Regions from separate parts of the Homo sapiens genome. Here region 1 is linked to region 2. The links are contacts of gene promoters, found by promoter capture Hi-C in human tissues and cell types (Jung and others, 2019). All regions are on one chromosome and are shown on one strand. The core of a region is centred on a gene start or on the middle of the fragment in contact, and the rest is flanking DNA. Distances in the headings are between cores, read along the strand shown.

Region 1 (6,291 bases), core at 271-2,770, 410 kb after region 2:
AAAGCCACTTCCACCTCCACAGCCAGTTAAATCCACCATGGCTTCCCAGCTTGCAGATGCTACTGTCTCACTGTGCCCTCCCTTGGTGGAGAGACAGAGAGAGGGCATGCCCTGGAGTCTCCTATCAGAAAGACACTAACCTCACCCTTCCTTCATGACCTCATCTCACTCTCATCACCTCCCAAAGGATTCATCTCCAAACACCATCATACTGAAGGTTAGGCTTCCATATGCAAATCCTGGGGAGATAATTCAGTCCACAGCATGGCGCATGCCTGGGAAGCCCCTGCAACCCTGGCTCAGTCAGTGGATGAGGCCTCTGTGTCCCTTGTTGACTCTAGTTGATGATGACGCCCTGAGTGCTGCTGTGGGCACTGGCCCTGTGACATTGAGACTGGAGCTAGAGTAGACACATAAAATAGTTTGTGGTGAATGGGCACAAGGGAAGGGGCTCTCTGTGCAACATCCTCAGGGCTTTTCCATGATGAACAATTCCACAACCAGGAGTTCTGTTTGATGAGCAATTTATACCATCCTCAGCATCAGGTGGTTTCCTTCTAGAGAGCTCATGGTTTTTTTTTTGGTGGGGGAACAGGGTTTTGCTTTGTTGTCCAGGCTGGAGGACAGTGGCATGAACATGGCTCACGGCAGACTCAAAGTCCTGGGTTCAAAGGATTCTCCCACCTCAGCCCCTTGACTAACTGGGACAAAAGCACGTGCCACCATGCCTGGCTAAGCTTTTTGTGTATTTTTTGTGGAGACGGGGCCTTACTATGTTGCCCAGGCTGGTCTCAAACTCCTGGGCTCAAGCAATTCTCCCGCCTTGGCCTCCCAAAGTGTTGGGATTAAAGGCATGAGCCACCATGCCTGGCTGCTTATGCTTTTTTCTGTTGTGGCCCAGATATTATATCATCTCTCGTCTATAAATCTTCAAAACTTGAATTTGTGTGTAAAACCTAGTTCTGGGGAGGGTCAGAAAAGACACTCTTACCGGGAACATCCTGATCAGTCAACTGGGGCCTTGAATACCAGGTAACCTTTGACCTCTGCAGGTGCAAGGGCTCTGGGGGTGTGGGTTCCCATTGCTGTTGAGGGCCATTCTGCTTTGGGGGTGCCCTGGTCATATGATGTGGAGACACCATGTAGGACACTTTTCACGGAGGTTCGGAGGAACTGGTTCTTACCAGGGCATTCCTGCAGAATTGCCTCCCCTTGAGGGCCGTCTTAAGCTTCCTAACACCTAACGTGTTGTCTCAGGAGACACATGTGTTGGGATTACACATTCCCCAGCACCTTCTCATCACCTCTGAGAGATGGCAAGGCCTGCCGAGATAGCTCTGAGCACCTTTTAAAATGAATCCATCCTACAGATCATAGGATGACAACATTTCCTCATCTCCATCAGCCATACATGAAGGAAGTACACACTCCCAAATGCAGCACGAGTGACCACTGAACCCCTAAATGCAGCCCAAGCCATCCTGAATTTGGGGTGCTGGTCTGTTTGTGTGCACTTCTTCAGGACACAGTTGTCTACATGGATCTATGTTCCCATTCTTGCAGTGCTGGGGATGGAGCCCCCAGTAGGGGCTGTGGGACTCAGAGATTGTGCTCTTAGTCCCAGGCTCCTGGCACGTTCCTACACATGGATCATTTCAGAAAATGTGCTTTTCTATTAACAGATCTTCTCTAAAGAGTCAGGGCCAGGTGGCTCTATTCACACCACTTGTGTTGTGCACAGCGCATGGTTCATTTATGAAGAGAGAAAGTAATTCTCTTGGTGAGGAGTTTCCTTGTTTTCAATATCCCACAGTATTTCCATAAGCCATACTGAGGAGTGCCTGAAATAGAAAATTTTGATATTTAATTTGGAGCATCCAAGAAGAATTCATTCAGACTAGGAGCCAGAGAAGGTGGTATTATGATCTATTTTATTTTTTCTCCTTAAAATTCCTCTATATTAACATGAATAGATGTGTCTTAATTTTGCAGTAACTATAGATTTTTGAAATTCCTCCACATTAAACATGAATAGAATGTGTCTTAATTTTGCAGTAACTATAGGTTTTTGCTCCTTTATTTGTACATTTCTTCTTTCCCTCTTGCACCTTGAAAGTAGGTCATGGTACCGGTTTCTGGAGGGAAAAGGATCTGGCATTTTATAAGGACAGGATCATGTTAGGTAAGGAATGCAGTCCTAATGACACGAAAGAGGGTAAGCGAAGCCCAGGCTACCCCTCTGGCCAGGAACGCGGGAAAGAGGTTTAAAGGAGGAAGGGATGACTCAGGTGCCCGGGCCTCAGCGCCACTCAGGGAGGCTCTGGGAAGAGCCCAGGTGGAGAAGCCCGGAGCGGCCAGCGCAGATCAGTGCCCCCAGGAAACCACTCAGGAGGCTGCAGACCGCCCTCAGCCACCGTTTCTGGTTTGTGCCGTGGTCGCCTGGAGGCAGAAGCCAGACTGGAGCACAGGAGACAGAGTCCGCGGGCCGCTGGCCTCACCGAGCGCTCTGGGGCCGGCGGAGGGAGGATCCCCCACATGTCTGAAGCCTGGGATCGGGCAGCAGGGCCAGGGACTGAAGGGCTGGCTTCAGACCACACACTGCACACCTGAGCTGGAGGGGCCTCAGCTCAGTAGATTCCACGGGGGCTTGTGGTGGGCTCTGGTGCCCTGCCACTCTGCAGCATCAACGATTAAGGGCCCAGGTGCACAGGGAAGACGCAACACCCGGCGATTCCCTCCTCATCTCCCCATAGCTGCGAAGAAACACAAAGTCACCTCATCTCCCTGACAGGACACACGGAGGAGGCGGCGCTGGGGGAAGGATGGAGACTCAGCACACCCCGAGCTCTGTTTAGGGGAAGATGCCAGAACGCAACTGATGACAGGTTAATCTCCGCCCCCAACACGTTCCGCTCAGATGGCAGAGACTTGAAGCATCAACAGTTCTCTGCCCGTGTTGAAAGCATCTTTCCCTGTCCGTGGGAGGCCTGTAGGCCTGGGTGAGTACCTGCAGGGGAAGGGCTGGATCCGTCACTGCTGTCACTCCTGGGAACACCGTGGTGTCCACAGAAGATGGCATGAGGTTGACTCACTTCAACGCTGGAGCTAGGGGAGCCTAATCCTCCTGGAGCTTTCCGTGGAACGGTGCCAATTGTTTATCAAGAAGTGACGTCACTACCCCTCCAGTTTGAGATCCCTGGAACTGCCTTGCAGGCAGGGGTCAGCACACAGGACATTAATTAGGGAAGTTCCTGCAGTCCACCCCGGGGGAAGGGAGGGAAGGGAAGCATATAGGGCTGGGGAAAGGGACAGGTTGAACTATGATGCAATCTCAAAGGAGGCTCAGCCAAGCCAATGGGGAGCCCCGGGGTGCCCCAAGTTCCAGAAAGGGTCCAATCTGTGTAGCCCCATGCTGGCGGGGGCTGCCCCAGGAAGGCCCAGTGTGAGGAGGGAAGCAGCACCGAAGGAGTTGGGGGACTTCCTGAAGGGGCATCTGGGCAGTGCCTCACGGTCACCACCTCACCAACAGAGAGCAACTGATAGCAGTTTCTGAAGACCAAAGACCCAAGTGCTGTGAGCTCATGCAGAGGGACCTCCCTCCTCCAGATGGCTCAAGTGCTGTGAGCTCATGCAGAGGGACCTCCCTCCTCCAGATGGCTCAAGTGCTGTGAGCTCATGCAGAGGGACCTCCCTCCTGCAGATGGCTGCTGTCCTGCATTGCCTAGTTTCTTCAGTGCCCCTTGATTTCTAAGTCATGGGGTGGAGATGTCTTCCTTACAATCATCTTTCTGTGCAAGTCCTGGGGACAAGCATTACAGCAGATTAAGAGGGATTCAACACATGTGCTATACAAAGGCAGCGGCCAGGTCCCAGCAGCCTAATGTCCTGAAAATTCCCACAGTGCTGCAGCCAGGGGTGTTGACTGTTACCATCTTGCATGGTAATTTGGGCTTCCTGGGAAACACTCTCAGAGGGAGACTTGCATGCCGGAGGTTTACTGAGGATGCTGCTGAGAGAGCACCTTTCAGGGACTGGGGGAAGCAGTTTTGAGCAGAAGAAGGAATTGAGTTGTGAGGTGACCGAGGCCCCTGAGGAGCTCTGAGGCTGGAATGGCCCTTCAGGATGCCCAGCATGAAGCAAAGGCACTACCCATGGATGCTGGGAGGCCTCGTGGGATGCGTTGTGTGGACAGGATGACCCCTCAGCCAAGGGCAACTCTAAGAGACTTAGCTGGCAACTTTGACAGCCATCGCCCGGGAAGCTGAGGGTTAGTGCCTCACTCCTAAGGGAGAATCTGAGTGGTGACCACAACATCCACTTCAGTAATTCCTCTTCCTAGCCAGCTTCTATGGCTGGAAGGAATGGGGATGGTGCTCAGGTCCGGCAGGCTGTGCTTAGAATAAAGCATTTCACTGACAGTCACCTCTGCCCCCTCCTGATTTAAGTCTCAGCTTAGCTCACATTTCTCATCTAAAGCCTCCTCTTTCTGGGTTTCTAGTTCTGTTATATACATATATACATTTTTAAAACTTGCCTTCTAGGAAATGGCCTGAAATCTGCTTGTTTCTATGCTCCTAGACATCTCTAAACACTGATGGGATGGACCCAAGCCTCTGACATAAGTATTTTAATTGTAAAGCCTGGCCTCTTAGTTGTTTCTTTTACGTTTTCTGTCTCTCTGCTTCTCGTCTTGGCCATTCCGGGAGTGTTTTGGTATAACCCCCGACAGCATTCATATGCTCTCCACGGCACACCAGCCAGTCCCTGAAACTGCCTTATCTAATAGGAACAGTCTTCCTCGGTGGTGGAAATAATCTCCCAGTTGTACCTGGAAGTGTTGATGTCTACTCTTCACCATCGCCCAGGTGAATCCTTGATTGAGTCTATCAGTCAGGGCCTTGCTCTCCAACTCCAGGAATGAAGTCATCTTTCCTATCACATTTTTGGTAAGTCAGCCTGTGGGGGTGCTATGCACTTCCAACAAGAGGTGCCTGAGGAGAGGGGAGAGCAAGATAGCAAGATAGAAGCCTTCACCAATCATCACTACAGCAAGAACACCAAATCGAACAACTATCTACACAAAAAAGCAACTTGATGAGAACCAAAAAATCAGGTTAATAATAATAGTACCTGGTTTTAACTTCATATCACTGAAGGAGGCACTGAAGAGGGTCGGAGAAATGGTGTTGAATCACCAACACTGCTCCTTCCCCATCCTCCAGCAGTGGCTGAGCAGACAAAGACACCTGCAAAGCCAAAAATATTTGCTACCTGGCCCATGATAGAAAAGGTTTACTGAATCCTGCTGCAGAGAAATAAATGCAACCAACTTCAATGGTGTTGTGTACAATTTTAAGGTATTCACATGTCACCAAAAATCCCTCCGTTGATGCTTTATGGGACTTTGGTGTTCAGAAATCCTGTTTTAAAGGCCGGGGGTGCAGTGGCTCATACCAGTAATAGTAGTACTCTGGGATATCAAGGTGGGAGGATGGATTGAGGCCAGGAGTTCAAGACCTGCCTGGGCAACAAGTGAGACCCCAACTTTCCAAAAAATTAAAGAATTAGCCAGACATGATGAAATGCACCTGTAGTCCCAGGTACTCAGGAGGCTGAGGCAGAGGATTGCTTGAGCCTGAGAGGACAAAGCTGCAGTAAGCTATGATGACCCCACTGCACTCCAGGCTTAGTGACAGATCAAGATCCTGTTTACTTAAATAAAATCAAAAAGAAATGTTGGATGAATAATTTTCCTGTATCTTATTGTCATTTTGGGCTTGTTGTGCTCTTGATAAACAGCATACCCTGAATGCTGCCTGCTTTCTTTCCTACCTGACGAATGCTCAAGGTTTTCTGTAACATTCCACAGGCCTAGCACAGTGGCCACGGAGACAGCAGTGGTAACATTACTGTGTTAGTGACCTTCTTATTCAGGACTGCAGCAGCCTTGGAGCCCAGGTGAGAACAGAAACGTCCTGTGTTTATATCACCTAATATAGGCACAGAGATCTCCTGTGTCCACAAGTCTTCACAGTTTGTTTCAGAATATTTTCTTTTTTTGAGACGGAGTCTCGCTCTGTCACCCAGGCTGCAGTGCAGTGGCTTCCTGATACGGAAGCAAGAGTACGCCTTCAGAAATTTAGCAAATTCCCCAAGAAAGACTGCCAGCTCCCCCTAATCAGGAAACACATATCTCACAACTTACCACTCACCAAAGGTTCTCATTTCATGTGGTTTTGTACGAGCAAAAAAGGGCTTGTTGAAGACACCGGGTTCCCAGACCTGGACTCT
Region 2 (6,628 bases), core at 913-3,412:
ATATCTAAAGTATATCAGTAGTGTTTACCACATGTGACATTATCATTTTATTTATTTTTAAATGTCGTGTCCATAATGAAATGTAAAATCCATAAAAGAAAGTACTTTGTTGTGTTAATTGCTCTATCTCCAGAACCTACAATAGTTCCTGGCACATAGTAGGCACTCAAGGGTAACCAGTAAAACAATAAATATACACTATATTTCTTCCTTTTCCAAGAATGTGGAGGGAGGGAGAAAACACTTTAAAATGCAATTCAAAAGATGTCATGAAAAGAGAGAGAGAGAGAGAGAGAAAAAGCACAGAAATAGAAAACAAATAAAAAGTACAAAATAAAATGTTAAAAATAAATCCATATAGGTTAGTAATAACAATAAATATAAATGACCTAAACTCACCAGTTAAAAACTAGAGATTTTAAAATTGTGTTTTAAAATAATTCAGTTATGTGCTATATTAAAGAGATACCTTTAAATTGCAGGACATAACATAGGAAGGCTGTAAAAGATGTAACAGGCAAATACAAAGCAAAGAATGTTGTTGTACTTATAGCAATAACAGACAAATTATACTTTAAGGCAAAAACAAACAAAACATGTACCATAATACCAACCACATAATGTTAAAGCAAAAAAAAAAAAAAAAAAAAAAAAAATCACCACAATATATTAAGATCATATGCGTATGCCAAAAATGTATAAAGAAATGACTAATAGACAACAAATTTAGGTTACTTGGAGATAGTGGGAGAGGTGGAGGTTGTGACTGGAAAATATATAAAAGTGACTTCAACTCTAGTGATAATATTTAAAAATTATTCTAAGCTAGATGGTGGGTGCATTGGTATTCAATGTAATTTTATCATATCTGTTTCATGTGAAAATAGTTCATAATTTAAAAACTCTCCCAAATCATATTACTACTAACTTTCAATGCAACAGAGCTGTCAAATACAACATGATACTTTGAAAGCCTGGGTCGGAGAGCGTCTCAGGGAAGAAAAGCAATACGGATTGGCAAGATCACCTGAGGAAGTTTCAAGGCATTCTCTCAGGTCGGGGCAGGTAAGAGCATTCTTGGCTTTAGCAGGATACCCAAATAGGCAAGTTGCTTACACTCAATTTTGTCTTCCAGAAAATGTGTGTGAATAGAACAATTCCCTTGCAAGGAACTCCCTAGCAATGAATGTAGATAAAATACATAGATGTTCAATGAACTGCATCAAGATTTATCTGGAAATGAGGCAGAACAGAGCTAGCAAGGTAGAAAAACAAGATCCTACTTCCTTAACTCCTCAAGGCAAAGAGCCCCTGCCCTCTTTGGTCTTTGGATTACCCATCCCCTCAGGCACTGCGTCCGCGCATAATGGACAGTCACCAGATGGTGAATGCTGGAAACGCATCGGTGTTTTTGAAAGTGAAAACAGACAAATCACCGCAAATAAAGGAATCAGTGTCAGCTCTCTAGCTGGGAACCACCAAGGTTACAAAGCTAACGTGACTGGCCCTGCTATACCGAAACGGCTTAATTTCTTTCTGGCAAATCCACATTTACGGCAGTAAGATACTAAACACTTTCTTTCACTTTAAAAATATTTCGTTTGTCACTGCTGCAGTTTATGTCCCTCAGATGAGTAATACAAGGCAAAAATGAAGTGAGGTTGGGTGGTGTGAACAGCCTTCCCCTTCCATGTCAGCCACGTCTATAGAGAAGCTCACGCGGCCCTTTCCCTTTGCACTTCTCTCCTCTGTAGCAGGCCGCGGGGTGAGGGTGGGATTAGGCGGCCAATTTTACAAAACTCCAGGGAGCGTCGCCAGCCTCGATTTCCTGGGGTTATTCCTGGGAGAGAGGCGTTCTCACGGACAGCCACCCTGGGGAGGAGGAGGAGGAAAGGCACTAATGGATGAGGAGGCCCGCGCACCCCTCCGCCTCCCACCCCGGCGCGCCCTGGAACGCCCTGGAGCGCGCCCGGCTTCCCTCGCCCGCCTGGCCCGCGGCATCCGGCAGCCCCGCCTTCAGCCCGCCGGGCAGGTCCGCACTCCGCAGAGGCGAGCGCGCTCCGGTTCCAGCCGGGAGGTGGGCGGCGACCCATCCCGCTAGAATCCGTCCAGTCTCTGCTCGCGCACCGTGACTTCTAAGGGGCGCGGATTTCAGCCGAGCTGTTTTCGCCTCTCAGTTGCAGCAGAGAAGCCCCTGGCACCCGACTCTATCCACCACCAGGAAGCCTCCCAAAAGAGCTCTCGCCCTGTGGACGACTCGGAATCCCTGGAAAAGCCGGGAGGGAGTCGGAGGCGCCAGCCCACTGGGGAGGTGGCGCTGGGCGCGCGGGATGCGCGGGGAGCCTTCTCTGCAGGAGCCGCACAGTGCACTGCTGCGCGCTGGGCAGTGCGGGGAAGCGCCGCGGGAAGGAGCGGCTCCGAGCAACAGGTGCAGCACGCAGCCCCTCCGGGAGCCAGGGAAAACCGCCGGCGAAGATCTGGAGCGGTAAGGCGGAGAGAAGGGTCTTTCCACCTGCGCGGCTGCAGCCGGCGGATCCCTCTTCCCAGGCTCCGTGGTCGCGCAGCGGGCGGAGGCGCCCGGGAAGGGGACCCCAGTGCTCTCGAGATCACCGTCCCTTCCCGAGAAGGTCCAGCTCCGGGCTCCCGAACCCACCCTCTCTCAGAAGGTCCCGGCGCAAAGACGGTGCCACCAGGCACGGCCACCGGATCCCCGCTCCCGCTGGCTCGCGCCTCGGGGGAAGCTCAGACTCCTAAACTCGCACTCTCCGTGCTTTGCGCCGGGACCCCTGGCCACCCCCGGCGCCTACTATCCCGCCCTCCCTCCCCGCGCGCCCCGCCGCTCGCCGGGACAGCCCCGCGGGCCATGGAGCTGGCGGTCGGGAACCTCAGCGAGGGCAACGCGAGCTGGCCGGAGCCCCCCGCCCCGGAGCCCGGGCCGCTGTTCGGCATCGGCGTGGAGAACTTCGTCACGCTGGTGGTGTTCGGCCTGATCTTCGCGCTGGGTGTGCTGGGCAACAGCCTAGTGATCACCGTGCTGGCGCGCAGCAAGCCGGGCAAGCCGCGGAGCACCACCAACCTGTTCATCCTCAACCTGAGCATCGCCGACCTGGCCTACCTGCTCTTCTGCATCCCCTTCCAGGCCACCGTGTACGCGCTGCCCACCTGGGTGCTGGGCGCCTTCATCTGCAAGTTCATCCACTACTTCTTCACCGTGTCCATGCTGGTGAGCATCTTCACCCTGGCCGCGATGTCCGTGGACCGCTACGTGGCCATCGTGCACTCGCGGCGCTCCTCCTCCCTCAGGGTGTCCCGCAACGCGCTGCTGGGCGTGGGCTGCATCTGGGCGCTGTCCATTGCCATGGCCTCGCCCGTGGCCTACCACCAGGGCCTCTTCCACCCGCGCGCCAGCAACCAGACCTTCTGCTGGGAGCAGTGGCCCGACCCTCGCCACAAGAAGGCCTACGTGGTGTGCACCTTCGTCTTCGGCTACCTGCTGCCGCTCCTGCTCATCTGCTTCTGCTATGCCAAGGTGCACGCCGGTCGCGGGGCCGAGACGCGCGAGGGAGGGCGGAGGGCCGGTGGGGGCCCTGGGGTCTCAGTGTCCCGCGGCCCTGCCGGAGCCTTGGCGGCAGCCTGGCCCCGGTGGTCCCCACTCTGGCGGCGCTGGTACGGATCTGTGCAGAGAGGCTTCCTGGCCGCTGCTGGAGCGTGCCATTGGCTTGCGCAAGAAAGTTACTTGGAGTCTGAGAGATGCTGGGGAAAGTTTGCAGTTCACTTCGCATGGTCCAGTAGAACCAGTTTCTCCTCCCCTCCCCTTCCTCGGCCCTGCGGCCCTTCAACGCCCCCAGGTTGCCTGGGCGGTAGGTAGGCGGGCGCTGCCGCATCCTTCCCGGTACAGCAAACCCCGCTCGGTTCCAGCAACTCTTCAACCAGATCAGCTGCGCGGGGAGGTTACCGCCGCGGCGCTGTGGGACCTGAGGAGAGCTCTGGTGGTCACCAGAGCGCGGACCTTTTGCGAGGGTGACGGGTCCCCACAGCTCCCTCCCGGGCTCTCAGCTGGCCGTGGCGGGGGGGACTCGCGGGGCGGCCCCTCTCCCCCGGGGTGCGCAGTTTGCCCTCGCTCCGAAGGCTTTGCGCACACCGGGCTCTGTGAAGCCGCTGCTCCCGGGGACAGAGCCTCGAATTTTATTTTATTCTGAAGCTTAGCTTTGTAAACCCAAGTGCAAAAGGGTGTTTCTTTACAGAGTCTTGACCGCAGGCTCCAGGAACTTGGAATGGAATGGACTCGAGCTTTCGGCTTCCCCATTTCAATCCTTTTTAGAAAGGTCTCCTGAACAGGGTGAAGTGGTTGAGGCGGCGGGTCTTCACCCTAACTGTAGCAGAGGCACCGTCCACGCGTGTGGGAGATAGTTTTTCCCTTTGTACAGCCGGGCAGAGCTCAGCACTCACATTCTTTTTCTCATTAAGTCCACAAGGGTTTGAAGACTTTATACTGATCAAAACGTCTTCAGCCTTTGACATACGTGTTTTTATTTGCGTAAACGGGAGCTTATTTTAATAATCAGGTGATGGCGATTCACCGGGTAAACCCTAATGTGCGCAACCTCCTCGCTCCAGAGCATCGCCATTTGAAATACAGCTGTTACCAGTTCCACCCGACTTCACCGCTGTCTCTCATTCTGTTTCAATAAGGCTGTGACTATACGACCACAAATAACCTGACTAGGTAGAACAACTATCACTTTTAATACTCAAGTCACAAGGTATTTTTATCAACAAAAGTGTTTACTATAAGCCACCTGTTTCCCCCCACCTATTTCATCTAGGTAGATTGTGTCTATTTTGAATAATAATATTGCTGGATATTATCTGAACGGCCTGCACCAAAAGGTTAAATATGAAGAAATACAGTACCACTTTGGGAGGCCGAGGTGGGTGGATCACCTGAGGTCGGGAATTCGAGACCAGCCTGACCAACAGGGTGAAACCCCGTCTCTACTAAAAATACAAATATTAGCTGGGTGTGGTGGCGGGCCCCTGTAGTCCCAGCTACTCCGGAGGCTGAGACAGAAGAATTGTTTGAACCCAAGTGACGGAGGGTGCAGTGAGCCGAAATCGTGCCACTGAACTCTAGCCTGGCTGACAACGGAGCGAGACTCTGTCTCAAAACACCACCACCACCACCACCACCACCATCACCACCACCACCATCACCACCACCACCACCACCACCACCATCACCACCACCACCACCACCACCACCATCACCACCATCACCACCACCATCACCACCATCACCACCATCACCACCACCACCACCACCACCACCACCACCACCATCACCACCATCACCACCACCACCACCACCACCAATATAGTAGCAGTAAGGGAATTTGGAAAAGAACTCTAGCTTAGCTATTTGGAAAATGGCTGGTTTATTAACGTGGTCTTCCGCAGATGCTAAACAAAGGCTATCTTACATAGCACAATTATCTGATATGTGCACCATCTCATTTAATTTGCACAACTCTGTGGCTTGGAGCTATTTTATTATTTACCCGTATTTTATTATTTAAGGAAAAAGAGCTTTGGAAAGGAACACCTGACCCAGATTATGAAGCTGGTGAATGATTCTGGAAGGATTTTAACACAGGGATTCCCAGTCTTCTGAGGACGGGACAGTTGGTGAGGCCTTGAGGACATTGAAGTCTGAGATTGAGATTCTTAACATATATGGCTGTTAAGTTCCTAATTACTGTGGAGAACTGAAGCACACGCTTCCTTATTTCCCCAAAGCCTTCAGGGAGAAGAGCTAAAATCTTCTTACTGGAAATGACAAAGTAAGATTTTAGGAGTAAATTGAATTCAGCATAATATTCATAATATTTGCAAGTTAATTTCAGGGCTGTCATGGATAGGTGGAGATTTCAGTTATTTCAAGTTGATTTTCTTTGGCTCAGGCATTAGGTGTGCACCATCCAGTTAAGGATTTTGCTACTTGAGTATTAGTTTCAGGATTAGCTGTTCCTCCAAACCCCAGGCCTTTTGGATAGCCTGAAAAAACACAGATGGCTAAAAGGGAACCTGAGGTTATGATGCTTTAAATAAACAAAAAAACTTAAGACAATTGCATTCCAGAGTTGCCTTTTGCCTCCAAATTCTCACAAGTTTGTAAGGGAGCAGTCTTTTGCACCAGACAGTTTCTGGGAAACTCATCGAATACATGGGTGGGAGGATGAGTCGAAGTGGTCTGCCCAGTGCCCCCTGAAGAGCCCTCCCCTCTGCTGCTATGGAGCTGTTCTTCACCAGGTCTGTGCCCCTCGCTCACTTCCCTTAGAGTGAATTACTGTCCAGAATCTCCTTGGTCTACCATGAGGATAAACTCAATGGGCCCACTCGACTAAGTTACTCCGAATCCCCAGGATGTAGCCAGCAGGACCTGGGTTTGGTTTGAGCTAGCACCTTCCTGTGCACACTCAGAAATTTACAGACTCACCAAGAGACCCCAGTATGTTATTATCACTCTCTTCTTAAACGTCGTCATACCCTATCATGGTACCTACATTCTTCCTCCTTTGCTGCTGAGACCTTCAGTGGGGTGCATCATAATATATCATTCTGTGCTCAT

What was found. Contacts are between HindIII fragments. The study calls those that stand out against the background at their distance.
Region 1: a contact is called between a fragment that was not itself captured here and the fragment with the promoter of GALR1 in region 2, in 1 of the 25 tissues and cell types used here (spleen).

Annotation. Positions count from the first base shown.
Region 1 is chr18:77,655,317-77,661,607 of GRCh38, forward strand. No RefSeq gene overlaps it. Among named protein-coding and RNA genes, the nearest start is that of LINC01029, 340 kb to the right of the region's middle. RefSeq lists an enhancer at 2,959-3,920. The HindIII fragment of the contact is 5,299 bases long and covers 1-4,170 here.
Region 2 is chr18:77,247,686-77,254,313 of GRCh38, forward strand. GALR1 (galanin receptor 1) reads left to right here and starts at 2,163. Exons shown (of 3, transcript NM_001480.4): 1 at 2,163-3,529. The coding sequence starts at 2,864. It overlaps LOC124904329 (a long non-coding RNA gene), which reads right to left and starts at 3,766. Exons shown (of 2, transcript XR_007066422.1): 1 at 3,163-3,766; 2 at 24-1,872. RefSeq lists enhancers at 1,799-2,470, 3,142-3,813. The HindIII fragment of the contact is 7,211 bases long and covers 1-6,628 here.